Linked DNA regions of Homo sapiens: region 1 is linked to region 2. Evidence: promoter capture Hi-C in 16 types of primary human blood cells and fetal thymus (Javierre and others, 2016). All regions are on one chromosome and are shown on one strand. The core of a region is centred on a gene start or on the middle of the fragment in contact, and the rest is flanking DNA. Distances in the headings are between cores, read along the strand shown. Region 1 has its middle 440 kb from the start of ANKRD30A. Region 2 holds the start of FZD8 (frizzled class receptor 8).

Region 1 (5,473 bases), core at 1,364-3,863, 1.0 Mb after region 2:
ATCAAAAGGAAAGGGAATAGAAAAAAGAAAGTAAGAAGCCACAAATTTCAAGAGAGAAAAACTGACAAAAAGAAGGGGGTAGTCAACTTCATGAATAATGCGGATGTACTGAGTGGGATGAGAACCCAGAGTGTGTGTGGGATTTGGAATTACACACATGACCTTGGCACAGTGTCAGTAAAGTGCTCAGGAGGGAACTCAGATTGTAGCCAGGATGAAGAAGGTGTGGGGAATTCCTAAAGCCATAAGCATGAAAGAAACCCATTTTTAAAAATGGGCAACAGGTATAAACAGGCAAGTTCACAAAAGACAAAATCCAAAATCCCTATTTTAAAAAACGATTCAATCTCTGTGATCAAGGATATGCAAATGAGAATGAGGAAATACCACAATACTTCCATTACATGAGGTGGGGAGTGTCTGACAACACCTGTTTTGGGAAGACATGGAGATACAGAAATTCTCATAACTCTGCTTGTGGAGTATAGATTGTTAAAACTTGGAAACCAATTTGACAACAGCCAGAAAAGTTCAAAAGGTACATTGTCCCGTAACTCAGCAATTCCTTTGTTAGCTGTATTCTCTAGAGAAATGCTTACACATAGGCACCTAGATAAATGTAGAATGTAGTTCAATGAAGCATTAATACATACTAAGCAACAATCTTTGGGAAAACAGACTTTAAAAGTTGTACTCCTTAAAACCTAGATGACGGGTTGATAGATGCAGCAAACCACCATGGCACATGTATACCTATGTAACAAACCTGCACGTTCAGCACGTGTATCCCAGAACTTAAAAAAAAAAGAAAAAAAAGTTGTGCTGCTGCTACCTGATTCAGGACCCAGACCTCAGGAAGACATAAATGTTAGCCCTTTCTCCAATTTTTTGTGCTTTGGATACATTTCTTTTCTGTGAAGATATTTGCCTTATATTTGACTGTGTCTGTGTTTTGGTTTTCTATTTCCATGTTACATTCATCACTGCCATTTTAAAATCTCTACCAAGAAGCACCAAAATATATTTTATACATCTACACTCAAAAATTGATTGTAAAACAGAAAAAGGTGAACAAAATGAGTATCAACCACTTTTCTAGGACCCATTAGAGGACTGAAGCTGCAGCACAAACTACCACTCTGAAATTTAGAGACAAGAGCATCCCAAATGCCACAGGCAGCTGAGATCTGCTTATCTGGAGAGAAGCCAGTGGAGACTTAAATTGGTAGAAACACATAAATGGTCATTTTTAAAAATTGTTGGAGACTGTGTGGACTAGTGTGAGAGCAAAAATCTTCTGGACCTGGAGCTTTAACTGGATCCCCAGGATTTCCCAGGCTTTACCTCCAGGTACTCAATCAGGTTCTCAGGAGAAGGAGCCAGGAAAGATGCTCTCTCAGCTCTGGCATGGAGAAGGAAAAAGGAAATCTTATGAAATGCACCAGGGATTTTTCCATAACAAAGGCTTACCCTCCAGGGGAAAGAGCTTTGTCAGAGTGTTATTCCAGTTGAAGAACTGGAATTCTTTCTACTTCAGCCCCCTCCAGCCTTCCAGTCTCCCCTAAGAGAAAAACAAGAAAACAATAAACTAACAAAATATGACTTCTGATTCTGCAAATTGCAGTAGACCTGCTATTCGCTATTCTTCCCGCTAACAACCCTGAAAATTACATATTCAACAAACACAAGGAGACTCTGGAAGGTGGGGAGAAGAAGGTAACTGAGCTGGGCAACTTGGGACACAAAGAATGACATATGGTGGTGAGTTTCCAGGTTTGCTTTCTGCCTCATATAACCATGACTTGGAGCTAAAGAAGGCAGCAGTTTGGAAATGCCAAGGGCAGAGACAATACAACCCCCAACAAAAGGCTGCTCTCCTAGCCAGAGGACCACAAAAGGGGCGGTGTAGCAGGAAAAGAAACTCTGGGAAAATATTTTATATTCTAGACAAATACAACAGAAAAAACAAACAAACAAACACGTGACCCCAACTCCAACCATACCATCAAAGGCCATGAGAGGAGCCTAGACTGCCACCCTCACCAGTTGTGATGAGGTGCCTTAAATCCCTGCAGGGTTGTCAGAGAAGGCAAGTAGCGAGCCATGATATTTATCCTCACCTGCTGGAAACAAGCGTTCTCAAAGAGTTGGTGGAGACTACATGAGAACTTGGAATTCTACCCCCATCCATCTGTAACAAGACAATCCTCACCCTCCCTGGTGGGTTGGTGACAGAGGCATCTTATTAGAGAGTTAGCACAGTCATCATTGCCCAGTGGTAACAAGGCCACTCACTCCATGATGACAGTGGGGGACACAGAGGAGCAGGACCATCCACCCTTACACAGCCTCTCATCTGGTGTCATGGGGTCTGAGTGGTAAACCTGAACTCTGCCTTATCTGGAAGTAATAAGGTGGTGCCTCCCTCTCCTCCTGCCAGACTGGTATCAGAAAAAGCCAGATAAAACGGCAGATTTAAACAGATACAGAGTCTTATGACATAATACAAAATGTCCAAGCTTCAATATTAAATCACCCATCATACCAAGAATCAGGAGGATATCAAACTGAATTAAAAAGACAATTGGCCCATGCCCATATCAAGATAACAGACATGATACAACTATCTGAGAAAGATTTTAAAGCAGTCCTAATAAAAATACTTCAACTAACCATCACAAACAATCTTTAAAGAAACAAAAAGTAGAAAGCTTCAGCAAAGAAACAGAAGACATAAAGAAGAACCAAATGGGAATTTTAGAATTAAAAGATATACAGTTAATTTAAAGGCACAGTGAATGGGGTTAGTGCCAGAATGAAGAAATAGAGGAAAGAGTAAGTGAACTGGAAGAGGGAAAATATAATTATCAAATGTGAACGACTGAAAGAATATAGAAATTTAAAAAAAGAACAAAGTCTCAGGGATCTGTGGTATATAAGAAAGATCTAACATTCACATTATTGAAATTCCAACTGAGACAGGAGAAAGAGGGCCAGGCTGAAGACAATAATTTATGGAATAATGGCTGAAAACTTCTCATATTTGGCAAGAGGCATAAATGTACAGATTGGAGAAGTTGAGGGGATTCAAAAGAGGATGGCCAGCCGTGGTGGCTCACGCCTGTAATCCCAGCACTTTGGGAGGCCGAGGTGGGTGGATCACCTGAGGTCAGGAGTTCGAGACCGGCCTGGCTAACATGATTAAACTACGTCTCTACTAAAAATACAAAATTCAGCCAGGCATGGTGGCACATGCCTATAATCCCAGCTACTTGGGAGGCTGAGGCAGGAGAATTGCTTGAACCCGGAAGACGGAGGCTGCAGTGAGCCGAGATGGTGCCACAGTACTCCAGCCTAGGCAACAAGAGCGAAACTCTGTCTAAAAAAAAAAAAAAAAAGCGTAAATCTAAAGAAACCATACCCAGACAAATCATAGATAAACTTCTAAACATTAAAGACAAAAATTCTTGAAAACAGCAAGAGATAAACACTACCTTACCTATCAAGCAAAAGCAGTTTGAATGATAGCTGATTCCTCATCAGAAACCATGGAAGATGGAAGAAAGTAGCACAGTATTTTCTAATTGCTGAAAAAAAGGCCTGTCATCTGGATTTCAGTACTTAATAAAAATAATCTTCAAGAATGAAGGGGAAATAAAGATATTCTCAGATGAAGACAATCTCAGATCATTTGTCACGAGAAGACCTATCCTAAAAGAATGGCTAAGGATGTTCTCAAACACACAAAGGAAACAATAAAATAAAGAACCTTGGAGCATCAGAAAGGAAGAATACAGCAGGCAGAAATATGGGTTCACACTGGGATTCTAGCTCCTGGTTAACCTGCATGTGATCTTCCAAGACTGTCCACAGGCAAGTCCGATGCCTTTACCTGGCAGGCTTCACACAGGAGAGCTACCCTCCCCACACCAGGCTTGGTGCACAGCCAGTGCATTGCAGTTATTATTATTATTATTATTTTTTGAGACAGAATCTCGCTCTGTCACCCAGCTGGAGTGCAGCGGTGCAATCTCAGCTGACTACAACCTCTGCCTCCCGGGTTCAAGTGATTCTCCTGCCTCAGCCTCCCGAGTAGCTGGGACTACAGTTGCGTGCCACCACGCCCAGCTAATTTTTTGTATTTTTAGTAGAGACAGGGTTTCACTGTGTTATCCAGGATGGTCTCAATCTCCTGACCTCATGATCTCCTGCCTCAGCCTCCCAAAGTACTGGGATTACAGGTGGGAGCCACTGCGCCCCGCCAGTGCAATGCAGTTCTAATGGGAGTTGATGTCAGGGACTCAGGGGCCTCTGGGCCAGGCATGCTCTTGGGCATATTCCTAGCCCAGACCTGTCCATTCCTGGAACTCTCTATCTGAGGCCTTGAGCAGAAGTCTTCTTCACTGGCCTCTGCTGAGAATTTATCCGAGAGAAAGGGGGAAAGCTTCAAGCCACTTTTTCCTACTCTGACTCAATACTCAGTACTTTCCACCCGTGCCCTTCCCTTTCTCCATCCTCCTGGTGGTCCCCAGTCGCAGGGTCTGTAATATTGCACTAGCCTTTTACTTGAGGCAATCTCCACATCATGCTGATCCACCTGGCCCTCAGCCATTGCACCAATCCATAGGGGAAGGTAGAGTAGGGCAGACCCAGCACTCTGTTTCAGACTCTTGGTGATACCATAAGAGTAAGGGATTAAAACCACTGCTCAGTGGCTTTCATTTCTGGTTTGTCACTGATACGGACAGGAGACAGGGAAAACTGAGTAGAAAGGAGCAGTTCCCAGGCAAAGGCCCCACCCTCAAGCCTGGATACCCTCGGCCCTACATGAGAACAAGCATTCCTGTTTTCACAACCCAAAAGTTGCCTTTTGTCCTGCCACACCCCCTATCCTGCACCCATGCATATATACCCTGAACCCCAGGCTCCAGAAGCCGACCAGTAAGCCACCAGATCAGCGATGGTTGGAGAAGGGATGCGGCAGAGAAAGAGAGAAGAGGAGGAACATCTAACACCCAGAGGAGTTTAGCGGGGGCCGTTGGAGAGGAGTCCAGCAGCTGAGTGGCCCAGCTCCGGCTCCGGAGGAAGATCGCCTTCCCTCTCCATCTCCCCATTGCGGCCCCCGATCCATCCGGCTGAAAGCCACCTCCACCACTCAATAAAACTTCGCATTCATCCTTCAAGCCCGTGTGTGACCCAAGTTTTCCGTGATGCTGGGCAAGACCTCGGAATAGAGAAAGCTGTCACACTGGCCCTCTGCCCTTGCCAAAAGGCAGAGGATTCATTGAGCTGACTAACACTCAAGCCTCTGCAGGCGGCAGAGCTGAAAGAGCTTTATAACGGGGGGGGGGTTGCAGGCACCCTCCTCAGACACTACCTACCGAGGAGCCAGAGCCCAAAGCGCTTGCCCCAGCCTCTGCGCCTGACTGTCTGCATCCTCTCCCTCCTGCCAAGGGGTTTGAGCAGGCGGCAC
Region 2 (5,447 bases), core at 1,143-3,642:
CGGAAGAGGGACACGAAGCCGGCCAGCAGGAACATGGTGCCGATGAAGAGGTAGATGACCAGCGGCGCCAGCACGAAGCCGCGCAGGTTGTCCAGGCTCTGGTTGCCCACGTAGCAGATGCCCGCCACCGGGTCGCCGTCCACCGAGCTGAGCGCCAGCACCGCGATGGACTTGACGCTGGGCACAAGCCACGCGGCCAGGTGGAAGTACTGCGAGTAGCCGGCGATGGCTTCGTTGCCCCACTTCATACCGGCCGCCAGGAACCATGTGAGCGACAAGATCACCCACCAGATGGAGCTGGCCATGCCGAAGAAGTAGACCAGCAAGAAGACCACGGTGCACAGCGCGGGGCCGGTGGTCTCGTAGCGCACGTGCTGCTCCACCGCGCCCAGCTCCTCGTACTCGCCGCGCCCGCCCGGGCCGCCCGCGCCCGCGCCCGCCGCGCCCGCGCCCGCCGCCGCGCCGCCCGCGCCCCCAGCGCCCCCCGCGCCCGGCGCGCCACCGCTGCACGCCACCTTCTCGTGGCCCGCCACCAGGCGCACTAGGTAGCCCACCGACACGAAGAGGTAGCAGGCCGAGAGGAAGATAATGGGCCGCTCCGGGTACTTGAAGCGCTCCATGTCGATAAGGAAGGTGGAGACGGTGGCGAAGGTGGACACGAAGCAGAGCACCGACCACAGGCCGATCCAGAAGACGGTGAAGGCGCGCTCGTCCTGGCTGAAAAAGGGGTTGTGGCAGGGCAGCGCGCAGTTAGCGATCTGGCCTGTCTTGACGCGGTTGTAGAGCGGGTGGCGCTCGCTGGACACGCTCACCATAGGCGCGCGGCACTGGCACCCGGGCTCGCAGGGAGCCGCGCCGCCGCCAGGGGGCCGCGCCTTCCCGCCACCGCCGCCGCCGCGAGCTGGGGGCGCCGCCGCGTCCCCGCCGCCACCGCCCCTGCCGCCGCCGCGGTGCGGGGGCCTGGCCCCCGGCGGGCGGCCGTGGCCGCTGCCCGAAGGCGGCTGCTCGCCGGGCGGCGGCGGCGGCAGGCGGCGCGGCGGGCTGGGCGCGGCGGTGGTTAGGTCGGTGCGGTTGTAGTCCATGCACAGCGTGTCAGGGTTGCCTTGCTCGGGCAGCCGGTCGCAGCGCATGCGGTCGGGCCAGGCGAAGCCGTACTGGCGCATGAGCGGCGCGCAGCCGGCCTTGGCGCGCTCGCACACCGAGCGGCAGGGCGGCAGCGGCTTCTTGTAGTCCTCTAGGCAGATGGGCGTGTACATGCTGCACAGGAAGAACTTGAGATCGGGCGAGCACTGGATCTCCACCAGCGGCCAGAACTGGTGCACCTCCAGGCCCGCCTCGTCTTGCGTGTCGTGGTTGAACTGATTGGGCATGTAGGTGTAGTTGTAGCCGATGCCCTTACACAGCGGCACGGTGATCTCTTGGCATGCCAGCTCCTTGGCCGAGGCGGCCGCAGCGCCGCTAGAGCGCTGCAGCAGCGCCAAGGCGGCCAGCAGCGAGGTCACTTCCAACAGGTAACCCCACTCCATGCTGTGCGCCTCGGCCCGGTGCCCTCGCCCTCCAGGCGGCGCGCAGAGGGGTGCCGGGGGGGGGGCCCACGAGAGAGCCGCAGACGGGTACAGCGGGTGATCTGGGGTCTCCCTTATGCTTCGCCCGGGAGGGGGGTCTGCCGATAATCTAACCCCTTCTAGGGGCGCGTCCGCAGCGGCGCGGCCCGCAGCCTGGGCAGGGCCCTTCCGCACTCCTTTCCGCCGCTCCGGGGGTTTGAAGGCGGCTGCAGGCGCGCGCCACAGTCCGTAGGTCCGCTCTGCTGGCCCCGGGTCGCGCTCAGCCCTCGCGGCGCAGAGCGGCCGGGCCTCGGCTCATCGTCCCGCGCTCGCTCGCCTCCTCTCCGCGCGCCCGACCACTTCTCCCCGCCGCGCCGGGCGGCGGTGACTCCGCCGGACAGAGAGGGCGGAGGCGCCGCAAGTTTCCTCTGGGGCCGCGGTGCGCAGTCAAGATGGCTGGGCCGGGCCGCTTGCCGCGCCGGGTCAGCCCTGGCGGCCACCACTCGGCCCCCGGGGGCTCATGCCCGCCCCCAAGGCCAAGCCGCCGCCGCCGCCGCCGGAGTTGGGGACCCGCCTCGGCCCAGGCCGCCGCCCTCTTTCTCCGGCGTCCGTCCTTCGTCCGTCCGCCGCCGGGACAGACGGACCCCCGCCGCCTGGAAAAGTCAGCGCCGCGCTCCGGCCGCAGTCGGGCGAGGTGCACACAGTCTCCTTCCTGCTGGACACCCAGGAGCAAATCCAGACCGGAAGGCGGAGCGGACACCTGAGTGGCGCGGCCCGCGCCCAGCCGCCGCCTCCTCCTCGGCGGGAGCAGCGCCCTTAGCCCAACTTCCCGGCTCCAGCCCCGCTCGCGCCGCGCTGCCGGCTCATGAATATTTATACAGCGCGGACTCGGTCTCCGCCCCCAGCCCCGCGAGCCAATCGCCGGGCGGTAGGGCGGAGTCCACGCGCTCCCAGGGCTCAGCCTTCCTTAAGGCAGTCCCCGAGTGTCCGCACTGCTGTGCGCGCTCTCTGCGGATGGAGAGTTTTGGTAACCTTGGGATTGACCGCAGAGACAGAGTGTTGGCCATGGCTGTCCCCATGGCGCTGAGTGCGTCGGAGGTCTTGGTCCCCTTACCCCGAGTCTGCCCTTGGGGACAGGGACGGGGTTTGGTGCAGCGCGCGCCTCCCCGGCGCGTTTCAAACCAGCCAAGCCCCTGCTGCCACCCTCCGCAAATGTGGGTGATCTGCAGGCGGCTGGGGTCTCGTGCTCCTCGGGGCGGCAGGAAGGTCTCGCAGCAGGCGAGCGCCGGGGAGGCCTGCCGGGGCTCGGCGCTGCAGAAGACCCGGGAAAGGGTGTCCTCCTTGGGGTTCTCAGAACGATGGTTTCTGAGACTTGGAGATGTGGGGGGTGTGGAGTCATTCTAAACTGGGGCTGGACCCGGGACGGCCCGGGTGAGATGCCCCGGAGCCCAGCCTTGGGCGCGCGAGGGGCGCGGGGGACAAATGCCCGCCAGAGACTCTCCTCCCGCCTCCGCTGCGTGACCTGGGGGAGCCTCAGTTTCCCCACCTAGAGAGTTGGGTGATCATAGCACAGATCTCCAAGGGGGCTTTGATAATTAGGTGAGATAAAATATAGGAAGCCCCGAGCCGCCGTGCTTTCTTAGGAAAAATCATTCAATTTCTTTCTAAAATTCAAAACAAACCTCGAAACTTATAAATAGGACAGGCTGGAAACTCTGGGGCTGGATTCCCTGTCTTCCCTTCGTTCTTTCAGGACGTCTATTCATCCATCCCAAGTTCACAGGCTTTTGCCAGAGCCTCCTTTTCTCTGGTGGGAGGCGGCGCTGCGCTCTGGCGTGGACTCCGCGACACGTATCTGCTCTCTGCACGAGGCCGGAGCCGGACCCGGGCTGCTTTTAGCAGCCGCTTGGGCCACCGCCAGCGAACGCTGCCCCCGCCGGCTCCGCCGCCACCTTAAGACGGGCCGGGAGGGGGGCTGCGGGCGGCCCGGGCCGGCGGCCTGGCAGGTTCATTTACGCTTGTTAGGGCGTCCCAGGGGGCTGTCTTTCTCCTAGAATGGAGTGTTTATTTTTTAATTGATGTGCTGTTTCATTTAGCGCTTGTATGGAACTCATGCTGGGGCAGTAATTACTGTAATCTCGGGAACAAGCATTTCAGTTAGCCAGGAGGGTGGCAGAATATGTTTCTCTCTCTCTTTCTCTCCCTCCCTCCCGCCTCCTCCCCATCTCCGTCCCCCTCTCTCCCTCTTCCTCCCTGCCTCTCTTCTGTCTTCCCTCTCTCTCTCTCCCCACCTCCTTTCCTTCTCTCTCTCCCCCACCACTTTCTCTCCCCCCTCCTCCTCTTCCCCTCCTCCCTCTCCTTCCTTCCCTCCCTTTTCTCTCCGCTCTCTCACTCTCTTCTTGTTTCAAGATTTTTGCTATTTGCCAGGTTTCATACCGGAACAAGTACAGTTGGAGAACAAAAGTTGCAGAGGGCGTGGGGACAGAGCAAAAGAATTAAAAGTACATTTGAGGCCAGTTCCGGTTTTCGGGGCGCTGCTGGTGGTGGTGGTAGCTCGTGGTTGTCCGTTCAGAAACAACTCTTGTCATAAAACAAAAATAACCAGCAGTATTTGTAGATTGCTTGAGCTGATGGCATCTATGTCTTCCTCCTCCTGCTTTCTGTAGCTCAGTTAGCAACCTCATTATGAAACATATTACAAGTAGACTGTCAGACCGCACCCTGCCCCAGCGCCCCGTTTTTGGCAAGTTCTGTGTTCTAGGCATATCCACCAATCTATAGTTATACCCCCCTATCTTTTTAACTTTTTTAGTTTTAGTCTATAGAGTTGAACCTCTTTATACTGAAAAACAACACTTCCTTCCCACTTTTGTTTTGGAAAAACTAAAGTCCGTAGGAATTCGGAATTCAAAGGCTTCAGAAATATTAGCTGATTCAGCAGAAAACGGGCTATTCAAAAATACAGACTAGACCTTTACTTGATTAAAAAATTTTTTTTCTTTTCTCACCTCCTGCAAATCGGAATTCCCACTTGTATGTTGAATGTAGAAATTCACTATCTCTGCGGTTGGCACCTTGTTTCCAGAGGGCGAGTCTCCAGAACGCATCAGCTGCAGGTAATTGCCAGAGGTTCCAGTGCTGATCTGAGGGCAGCGGTGCAGGCAGAGCCCCAAAGACCAGCAAGGGTGCTGCACTGCCCGCACCACAGATGGGAGGGGCTGGTTTCCAAGAGCAACACAGATGGTGAAAAGTTTCTGTTGCTTTTCTTCCACGGGGAAATGTCAAATAGTGAAGTTTAGAATTACACTACATAAATTTGCTAGAATTGGGTAAAAACAAACTGACATTTGAAAATTGAAATTGAAGCTGAAAATGGTTGATTTTGGCTCTTAATTGGCTTTAAATTTTTTTTCTTTTTTCTTTTGAGACAAGATGAAAAGTTTGATGATGTGGAATGTGGAAATTTTGGGTAAGTATGTTAAGTTTGCATGAGAAAATAAGCAGACTGAAGTTCAGAATTTCAAAAATCATATCAGCTATTTGGGAGATCTTAGTGATTTGTGAGGTTAAAACCAGTTACATAAAAGTCATGACAAATGTACTTTTAATTGAGAGAATATAAGAATCGCATTTTACATCTACTGTTAAATTAAACGGCTACTTGGTAGTCTTTCAGAGAAGGGAGAGACTTCTGTAGCCAATTAGTGCGTAAAAGGTAATGATGGGTTACCTAGAAGTAACCAGAACATATATCAACTTCTATGGCTAAATAATGATATTTTCATTGTATGTAAAGCAGCTGTTTTTTAGGGGAGGGGAAATAGCTTTAGTAGTGACATAAATAATGTAGGGAAGTTTCTAAAGGGATTTCTGAGCAGATGGCTTGTTGCTGAATGGCCTGCA

What was found. Contacts are between HindIII fragments. The CHiCAGO score rates a contact against its expected background, and 5 or more counts as called.
Region 1: a contact is called between a fragment that was not itself captured here and the fragment with the promoter of FZD8 in region 2, in 1 of 17 cell types (naive B cells). The highest score is 5.0, in naive B cells.

Annotation. Positions count from the first base shown.
Region 1 is chr10:36,687,476-36,692,948 of GRCh38, forward strand. No RefSeq gene overlaps it. Among named protein-coding and RNA genes, the nearest start is that of ANKRD30A, 440 kb to the right of the region's middle. The HindIII fragment of the contact is 192 bases long and covers 2,518-2,709 here.
Region 2 is chr10:35,639,904-35,645,350 of GRCh38, forward strand. FZD8 (frizzled class receptor 8) reads right to left here and starts at 2,393. Exons shown (of 1, transcript NM_031866.3): 1 at 1-2,393. The coding sequence starts at 1,526. LOC124902528 (zinc finger protein 469-like) reads right to left here and starts at 2,943. Exons shown (of 2, transcript XM_047426128.1): 1 at 2,727-2,943; 2 at 1,825-2,510. The coding sequence starts at 2,943. The coding sequence ends at 1,825. It overlaps MIR4683 (microRNA 4683), which reads right to left and starts at 1,349; the gene lies at 1,269-1,349. LOC105376494 (a long non-coding RNA gene) reads left to right here and starts at 3,412. Exons shown (of 2, transcript XR_930820.3): 1 at 3,412-5,013. RefSeq lists silencers at 18-312, 852-941 and an enhancer at 582-741. The HindIII fragment of the contact is 11,239 bases long and covers 1-5,447 here.